Regions from separate parts of the Homo sapiens genome. Here region 1 is linked to region 2. Evidence: promoter capture Hi-C in human tissues and cell types (Jung and others, 2019). All regions are on one chromosome and are shown on one strand. The core of a region is centred on a gene start or on the middle of the fragment in contact, and the rest is flanking DNA. Distances in the headings are between cores, read along the strand shown.

Region 1 (4,956 bases), core at 1,730-4,229, 450 kb before region 2:
CTTAATTAGCCCAGAGAAAGATCACCCCCCAGGGCTGGGCAGCCTTTAAAATGCTTTTGAAATATTTTTAGCAAAACTATTAATCTTCTCAAAATCAAACAGATACCACCCCCTGCCTCCCAAAAAAAAAAAGGAGAGTAGAGAAGTAAAAACTGTGGATTGGAAATGAGTGAGATGTGGACCACAGAGAGGTAAATGGGAAGAAGAGGATTTGAGAAAGACAACACAAAAATGAGAAAGGTCAAAGTATAATGAGAAAAAGAGAAAATATATAATAGAAAGGAGCTGGAGGGAATGGAACAGAGGAAAGGATGATTCAATCAATCTATCTCTCCCAAGACCAGCACCACACAGGGTCCACAGACTGCTCTCAAATGATTCAGATGTTCACTCATCCCTCCCTTCCTGAGGATGCCAAAGTAGCTTCTCTACTACCTTTTACTTGAGTATGTTTCAGACCTTCCCTCCTAGGTCAGGAGGTTGGAAAGTGGGGAATTTGTGTTATTTAACTTTGCATACCTTGGGACTCGGCATGCTGACTTACACACCTAAGACATTCAATAAATACTTTTTAATGAATGAATGTTAACAAATGAATGGATGAACAAGTCAATAAATGAATGAACTAAAACAAGCCCTACTGACAAGGCACCAAGATTGGCTTATTTCTACAAAAACCTCCTAAGGCAGACCTTGCTAAAAGATCTTAAGAAATTTAGAACTTTTCTCTAGCCCATAAAAAAAGTTTTGCCCTGTTTCAAATTTTAAATTTCCACTAACTAAATCCCAGTAAAATAATTTAAAATGTCATCAACTAAAATGACTTTTTATATTTTCAAATGTCCTGTGCATCCTTCTATTAATGGAATGTGGAAAACAAACTCCCAAGATGGAGGAGTTTCTATCTTTCCAGCACCATGACTCACAATACAAATGTTTAGAACAGTTTTAAAAAGGAAAAGGTTTTCTTTGAAGTGATTTTACTTCCTCCTTGTTTTTTACTGCTGCAACCAATGTTTGTGATATTAACACTTTCAAAAACATTGGAATGTGACCAACAAAGGGCTTGAACCAGCTAATCAGCATGCATGCCAGATTCACAAACACTCAAGTTATCACCAGTGTGGACAGACATTATCAGATCATAAGTAACAATAAATTAGGACCTACCAGTAAAATAGTCTTTAAAGTGTGAAAATGCAGTGTTTATAAACAAGCTAAAATGTGCCTCCTACTTCATTTTGTTTCAGGGAGTAAAGATTTATTCTAGCTTCAGAGAAAGTAAACATGCAATTACAATTACATAAAACTAAGCCAGCTAAATGAGGATTTAAAAATTAAAAATTTCCCTTGTTTTTTTGCGAGCTACTGTTTATCTCGAAAATGTTCCATTGCAATAATAAGACTCACGTTCCTAGGGTTTTGACAGACTCGATAAACAAAAGGGATTTAGGGGAGTGAGCTGACCATCTGTCCAGAGCTTCCTGAACTTTCAGCAAAGCGGATGAATAAAATTATCCTTAATTATGTTGTCAGGGCTACATTTGAATACCCAGATGTACCAGATTTTGAATCAGCCACTTAAAATTCTGTTCAAAGAATTTGACTGTGTAACATAACTTCAGGAAGTGATATTATACACAGATTTAATATTTTAAATGTTGTCAATCATCAGATGAAGATCTACCAATCTTGACATGGGAGGGTGGAAGATAAAACTACCTCCCTTGGAATCTTTCTTGGCTGCTGCTAATACCCATAACTGAGAAATGCTCATAGGCAAGAAAGACAAGAACAGGAGAGATGTCAGTAGTCTCTCAGATGGATTTCTCTGTATTCTTTTTACTTGGTTCCACCAGATGTATGATACAGAAACACCATGGTCACTTTCACTTAATGCCTTTGTTTAAGCTGTTTCTCTCATTTGGTACGCACAGACCTTTCGCTATTTACGTAAATCTTACCCGACACTCTGAAGTCCAGAGCTGGTCATACAGCATAGTGGTTCATATCATGGGCTCTGGGGTTGGCCAGTATAGGGTTTAATTCAGAGCTGCTCATATAGCATAGTGGTTCATACCATGGGCCCTGGGGTTGGCCAGTATAGGTTTTAATTCAAGCTCTGCCACTTACTAGTTTTATGGCCCTAGGCAAGATATTTGATTTCTCCGGGCCTCAGTGTTCTCATTTGTAAAATGGGAACAATGCTTATGGATTCTTCATTAGGGTTGCTCTGAGAACTACATGAGCTAATGGATGTAAAGCACAATGCCTGGCACATGGTTGGTACCCAAATTTAAATTCCATACATATTTATACATACCTATTATGTATAGGTACTATGCTAGGTACTAGGGATATAATGACTAAATGTTAGCTACTTATTATTTTTACAACTACGACAGCTCTAGTATTTTCTCCCTCGATTATGCCAACCGACAGGGATAGGTTCCTCCTCCGAATCTCCAGTGCACTTACTTTAAATGTAATACTTTAGTACTTTAGTATGCACTGCCTAATTCCTTAATTGTTTTGTGTGTATGCATCTGGTCACTTTAGAAGAACACTTTAGAAGCTTCTGAAACAAACAGAACTAAATTATAGTAGGCAAATCACAGAGCAGAAGTCAGAAGATTTGGGTCCTAAACCCATCTCTGCTACCCAACTCTACTGCACACATCCCGTTGGGCAACTCGGATAAAGTATTTCAGTCTCAATTTCCTCATATGTGGATTGGTAGAATTTGGTTATAACAATTACTTAACTCCTTTTCATCCCTACATTAAATGGTTTGCTTTGATTTACTGTTAATGAACAGAAATCTAAGCCATCAGAATCCACTTGTTAAGGAAGCTGAAATACGTGCATGTAATCCAATTTGGAGGGTTTAACGACACTTTGCCTCTTCACAAGCATCTTAATGGTATCAGCCCATATGGTGGGGCAGCCATCTTCCCAAGACTTCTCTTGTGAGGTAAAAATCAGTCCTTTTTAAAATACACTAAATACATTATCAAAGTTTTTCATCTTTCCTTAGAAAAGAGATGGTGAAACTTGAAGCCAATGTGTATTTCAGAAAAAGACATATGAACAGCACTTACACATACCCTTAAAATACAAGAATGTCTTCGTGTAAAACGAAAACCAAAAAACAATGACATCCTATTGGCTGTGAGAACACTTTGAACGAATAAAACTTGCTTTATTTTAAACTTCTTTATAGAGTATTTAGATTTGCTTTTGATCTTTAAAATGACCATTTGTCTAAAATTTCCGGTGTTCTTCTTCATTCCCATCACATCTGCCAACCTGCCAGCTTCACAGGCACCATCTCTGCCTTCCCACCTGTGACAAGGGACAACCTTGGGGCCCCTGTGTGCCAGATCCCTGTCTCTCACCTTCTTAAACACAGTCTCCAACAATGGTTCCCCAAACCAAACCAATTCCCCACTCATCATTTCCATCAGCAAACAAACATTCTCTCCTATTCTGTTAAAGACCCTTCCTGGACCCCAGTGCTCCCTCCAGCCACTACCCCATTTTTCTGCTGCTCTTTGCAAACAGCTCCTCAGAATAGCTACCTGTCTACTGTTTTATAGCTTAGGAACCTACTGAAGTCCAGAAAGTTGAAATCATTTACTCGCACAGTGATTAAGCGCAAAGAAGCATTAAGAGCAGATACAGGGCCGGGGGCAGTGGCTCACGCCTATAATCCCAGCACTTTGGGAGGCCAAGGCAGGCAGATGACTTGAGGTCAGGAGTTTGAGACAAGCTTGGCCAACAAGGCAAAATCCCATCTCTACTAAAAATATAAAAATTAGCCGGGCGTGGTAGCACATGCCTGTAGTTCCAGCTACTCAGGAGGCTGAGGCAGGAGAATCGCTTGAACGCAGGAGGTGCAGAGCGCAGTGAGCCGAGGCTGCACCACTGCACTCCAGCCTGGCAACAGAGCAAGATTCTGTCTCAAAAAAAAAAAAAAAAAAAAAAAAGAGCAGATGCAGGTCATAAATTTTAGCCTCTGATAACACTAAGTGATACCTTTTTTCCTATTGGTAATAACAATAGAAAAACCCACAATCTCTAAATAAAGCCAATTGCAAACACTCATATTTGGAGAACAACTTATAGAGTACAAAAGATTTTCACGTGCCTTATCTCATTGGATTTTCATAACATCTCTGTAAGTTGGGTAAGTTGTTAAAGCTCCATCTTATCTTAATGAGAAAACTAAGGCCCAGACTTGCTGGATAACGGGGCACAGCAGGGAGGCTGCAGTGAGGCTGAGTATGAAGCCTACACACCAGCTGATATCTGCATGAACTCTGGCTAGTAGCTCAATCTCTTTCTGCCTTGGTTTCACATGTGTAAAATGGGTCCACCTCCCCGGGATGTTGAGATGTTTAAATAAGTTCATGCAGAAAGCTTGGAACCAGTGATTGACTCATAGTAAGTTTTAAGGATAGTATTAGCATTAAGTGACCACTGGGGGACAGGCACTCTACTAGTCTTATAAATAAAATGCTGCAACTCAACCATGCAGGTAATTCAACCCCGGCTAATTCTCATTTTAGCTAAAAACTCAGACAACATATGACATCAAGTCATTAATATTTGACATAGGCTGGGTGCGGTGGCTCATGCCTATAATCCCAGCACTTTTGAAGGCTGAGGAGGGTGGATCACCAAAGGTTAGGAGTTCAAAACTAGCCTGGCCAACATGGTGAAACCCCATCTCTACTAAAAATACAAAAATTAGCTAGGCATGGTGGTGGGCACCTGTAATCCCAGCTACTCAGGAGGCTGAGGCAGGAGAATCACTTGAGCCCAGGAGGCAGAGGTTGCAGTAAGCAGAGATTGCGCCACCGCACTCCAGCCTGGGCAACAGAGCAAGACTCTGTCTCAAACAAACAAACAAACAAACAAACAAAATATATATATATATATTTGAAATAAAAC
Region 2 (4,965 bases), core at 1,099-3,598:
AAGAAACCTCAATTTCTTCACACCTCCAAGTTGTTCACACGCTACTTCCTCCATCTGAAATGCTCACCCACTCTGCATCTCAGCTAATCTCTCCTCAGTTTTCATGTCTCTCCTTCAATGTCCTCCCCGTACACAAGGGTTATTTGTAAGATGTTGTTATTAAGTTCAAAGTTGCTGAATATAAATGAGAAAGGGCATGCAAAATAATCTTTTTTTTTTGTTAATTTCAGCAGTTAGTAGAGGTTTGCTTATTAGTAAAATGTTGACCATTTTGTTAAAATCACACTTGAGGAGCCAGTTGGCAGAACTTATTTTCTTTTCCTGAATTTTTTATTTTCACCCATATGCTCAACCAACAACGTAAAAACCCACCTCCATAGCTCCCTAGTGGTGATGACTCCTCAGATAAAGGCATTCTTCCATGATTCAATTTCATCTGTAAAGTAATGGCACTATGATGAATTATCCCATTCTCCCCTCAAAGTTGGTGGCCTGCCTTTGTTCAATCCTGCTTCTGTGATTGAAAGTTTATGCTCTAAAAGTAATCCCGAGAAATATATAAAAATGCATGACTTCCAAATACCCTGTGCTGTGCATATCATAGAAATTCAAAGAATCCCAAACTAAAAAGTAAATCATATATTCATATTTTTATCTTTCACAAATTGAAATACTCTCTAAAAATTTTTTCTACTAATTCTATATTGCAAATTATTTGAGTTAGGCAGTATGTCTTTCACTACTTTTTTTTTTTTTTTTTTTTTTTACAGACAGAGTCTCACTCTGTCACCCAGGCTGGAGTGCAGTGGCCGGATCTCAGCTCACTGCCACCTCCACCTCCCAGGTTCAAATGATTCTTGTGCCTCAGCCTCCCCAATAGCTGGGAATACAGGCGTGCACCACTACACCCACCTTGTTTTTTATTATTATTTTTAAGTAGAGACAAGGTTTTGTCATGTTGGCCAGGCTGGTCTCAAACTCCTGGTCTCATGTGATCCACCCGCCTCGGCCTCCAAAGCGCTAGGGTTACAGGCTTGAGCCATCTTGCCCGGCTGTCTTTCACTGCTTTTATACTGCAAACAGTTTTCACAACAGAGATGCTCAGTTGCTCCACACCCAGTCCTTCAGGGGAGTTATGCTTGCATATGAGCTCAAGGAACATCAAAATCGTTTTTTGAAACAAGAGCATCCTGGAAGATGAAGCAAGCTGCACCTCTGCCTTCATTAGTGAAAATGCCCTGTGCCAATATCTTTATGTCAAATGAATAAAAAGTACTCTTGGCCGGGCGCTGTGGCTCACGCCTGTAATCCCAGCACTTTGGGAGGGAGGCCGAGACGGGCGTATCACGAGGTCAGGAGATCGAGACTATCCTGGCTAACACGGGGAACCCCGTCTCTACTGAAAATACAAAAAATTAGCCGGGCGCAGTGGCGGGCGCCTGTAGTCCCAGCTACTCGGGAGGCTGAGGCAGGAGAATGGCGTGAACCCGGGAGGCGGAGCTTGCCGTGAGCCGAGATCGCGCCACTGCAGTCCAGCCTCGGCGACTGAGCGAGACTCCGTCTCAAAAAAAAAAAAAAAAAAAAAGTACTCTTATGTGACCAGGAGTGCAATCCCCGGTTCACTTCCTGCAGTGGCTCAGGGCTGGATTTACACTGCCCTCGTTGGGTGGCTGTCCATGGACTTCCAGGCCTGAAAGAAGGAAATTCACATCCTCACTGAGTCGTGTTAAGAGTCTCAGACTGGCAGGTTGTGGTGGTTAAGACCGTAGAAGCTAGAGTCAGGCCCCCTGGGTTCCAACCCTGCTCTGCCACGTACCAGACAGGCAAACCTGAGCAACCATTTTCCCGTGCTAGGGTTTCCTCGCCTGTCGAGTGAGAATAATAATAATAACAATACCTACCTCCTAGGGTTGCTGTGAGAAATAAATGACAATCCACAGAAAGCGCCTGCAACGGCGCCTGGCTGGCAAACAGCGGACTTGTTAATTACAGCCTTTCAACTAAGGGCGCCTGAAACTCGCAAACATTTTGCTCGGGTGTGGATTCGCTCCCGTTAGTTACAAACTTGGGATCCCGGGACCCGGAAAGCAAGGGGGAAAAATAAATCGCGATGGGGCCAAGGGACAGCTGCTGCGGCAACTTTTACCCAGCGGAGCCCACCTACAGCCTCAGCCTCCGGGTCTCAGGTCTCCGCCGTTTCTTCTCAAGGAGTCGGTCGGGGGAGCGGCACTGCACAGCTTTTCTCCAATCAGACACCTCAAGGCTGGCGCCTGATCCAATCTCCTCCCCTGGAGGGTGGGAACGCGAAGTTCCTACCTGCACCTGTGGCAGCGGTGACCGCCTCCTGGGTTATTTTCTTTTCTCCCCCAGCTGCCCCAGGGTTCTGGTTTCCCGAATCACTTGGCAAATAACCAGCAGGTGGGCAGATGTCTTTTTTGCGTTCCTACGGACGCGTAGGCAAGTTCGATGCGCCGGAGTGAACAGCCAGGGTCCCATCTCTCAGCCGGCTCCCGGGCGGTGCTAGCAGGGAAGAGGGACGCGCCGGCGAATGAAACACTACTAGCCCGGAAAGCCGCCCTGGACCTTCCACCCGGGCAGCGAGTCTGGCGGCCCCTCGCCGCCGCCCCCTCCGACCAGAACAGACTGCGCTGCGAGCCCCGGGCTTCCGCCGCAGCGCGCAGCAATTGGAGGTGCCAGAGGAGACCAGCAGCAGCACTTGATTTAGCTGGGCTGCGGGAATTCCGACCTGTACACTTTCCAGAAGCCTGATCTCTCCAAGTCCGCGCCCAGGGACTCGAGCCCCGGCTTCCAGGTTGACCCGAGCGCGCCCCCTTCGTGCTCTCGGCCGCGTTCACCGCGCGAGGCCTCCGGGTCCTGTTAAGCCCGAGCAGGTGAGCGACTGGGGGTGGTTCGGCGTCCGCCGAGACAGAGCCTGGCCCCGGGGGTCACCCTGGGGTGCTGCCTGGTACCTCCCAGGTACCCGCCTCCCGGAGCCCTAAGAGAGGCTGAAAACCACGGACGCTCCAGGACTCCGTTTTCTGTACTTTTGAGTAATTTGCCATCTTTTCCTTGCGCAATTCGTACAAAGCCCTTCCGTGCTCACAAAGTTGATGATTGTGAAGAAGAAAATGTAGGTTAGAGGAGAGGAAGCAGCATCAGGACACCTTACCACCACTGTTAGTAAATGACTTGGGGGTACGGGTTGCTTTTCCGATCTGCAAAGTAGGAGGGAATGGGATGTTTGCAGACGCAGTTGCTAATTGTGCCTGAGGGCGTGGGTGCCTTTTGTACCGAAAGAACTTTTGGCCGTTTTTTCTTGTATTGTTTTCAAGTCGCTGCCCGAGTGTGTCCTCAGGGCATCCTGGGGAGGAGCCGGTGTTGCGGTTTCGGGGCGCAGCCGAGGCCGCCCCGCCGCCTCCCGTAGGCGATCAGACTTCCTCTCCCTGGCGGTTCCGGGAGGAGAACCTCCTACAACAAACACCGCCGAAGTTTCCCTCTCCAGCGCGATCGCCAATCCCAGGAGCGCCCGGCGCGTGGGCTGGGAAGGAGCCGAGCGGAAACCTGGAAGTGAGCCGCGGCGCAGGCGAATCCTGCCGTTGCTGGTGGCAGCGCCCAAGAGACCCCGCACAGAAAGTGGGCTGGGAGTCTCGCTTGCTGTACCCGCACCTAAGTGCTCAGAAGCGGCCTTTCGCTCTGCAGAGGGGGGGTCTTAGAAGCTTGGGGAAGAAGCACATTGTTTCGGAGTTCCTTGTTGCGTTCTTTCTCCTTGGGAGGAGGGAATTGCACAAGGAAAAGAAGAGAAGCCTTTACTTTGTAACTGAAATTCTCCAGAGTTGAGTTGCGTCGTACAGACTCGGTGCATATTTTAATACAAAACTAAGGGAAGAGGCCATTTGATACTTGGCTTCATCTCAACCGTCAGCCGGGGGTGACTTCAAACAGACGCAAGATTGGGCTCTGGGGAGTAAAAGGAAGAATTAGGATGGCGGTTTTCAAGGGAAGTTAAGTCTAGACATGCTTCTTTGAAAGTCACAAGGCAGAAGTGGTCAAAAGTAGAATTTAAAAGAACCAAAACAAATATCATAAGCTTGTCCTTCTCTCCTACTGGGATATAAATTCTCCTAAGTATCTCATCGAAAAGGCTCCTGGGACGAAAGTCGATGGGGGCAAATCTTGGAGGGAAATTTCGTGACTGTTTGACCATGGACTAATTAATACCGTTCACCTGTAGAGAGGATGCACTTGGTTCCCAGCGCCCTCCTCCCAGGTGCTTATCCAAAGGGAGGCCGCCCTGGGTCGGATGGGTCACCTTTTGGCGTCCATCTACAGTCAAGCAGTGTGGACAGGGCGGTCATTTTCCCTCTAGAGACGGGTTGATTCAGAGGGGTGGGAACGTCCCTTGGGTCCCCCGGGCACGCTGACCACTGCACTGCACTTCCCCTGAAGGAAAGGCAAAGGTTGAAGCCAAAGAGTTCAAGGCTCAGCCTAGAGACCAGGTGATGGTGCCCTGGAAGACACTTCCGCCAGCACCCTATGGGGCGCAGTGGCGTCTAATGCTAATGTGGGCTACGTAGCTACGGGATTGGGTCGCTCCGACCCTGGCCGATCCGGTGCCAGACAGCATAAGGGAGGAAAGGGGACTGGGGGGGGCACGTGACTTCAACCAACCCAGTAACCAAGTTTTGTTTTCTTCCCCAGCACAGGCCGCTGCCTCAGCATCCACCCCGCAGCCCACGTGTGGCAAGCCGGGGAAGGGGTGGAGTGAACGGCCGGAGACCACGTGGAGAAAGGGGCCGCTTTGGCCCTTCCATCTGGGTGCCGGGAGCCCCTAGGCCCTCCGGCCATGGCCGACAGCGGCGATGCTGGCAGCTCCGGCCCCTGGTGGAAATCGCTCACCAACAGCAGAAAGAAAAGCAAGGAAGCCGCAGTGGGGGTGCCGCCTCCCGCCCAGCCCGCTCCCGGGGA

What was found. The method cuts DNA at HindIII sites, captures the fragments that hold promoters and counts their contacts. A contact is called where the count stands out against the background at its distance.
Region 1: a fragment that was not itself captured here is called in contact with the fragment with the promoter of PRR15 in region 2 in 1 of the 25 tissues and cell types used here (pancreas).

The regions. Positions count from the first base shown.
Region 1 is chr7:29,115,521-29,120,476 of GRCh38, forward strand. The region is part of intron 2 of CPVL (carboxypeptidase vitellogenic like); the gene reads right to left. Among named protein-coding and RNA genes, the nearest start is that of CPVL, 29 kb to the right of the region's middle. The HindIII fragment of the contact is 4,908 bases long and covers 526-4,956 here.
Region 2 is chr7:29,561,487-29,566,451 of GRCh38, forward strand. It overlaps PRR15 (proline rich 15), which reads left to right and starts at 2,349. Exons shown (of 2, transcript NM_175887.3): 1 at 2,349-2,891; 2 at 4,699-4,965. The coding sequence starts at 4,844. PRR15-DT (PRR15 divergent transcript) reads right to left here and starts at 2,205. Exons shown (of 2, transcript NR_183550.1): 1 at 1,902-2,205. RefSeq lists an enhancer at 3,972-4,835. The HindIII fragment of the contact is 8,966 bases long and covers 1-3,901 here.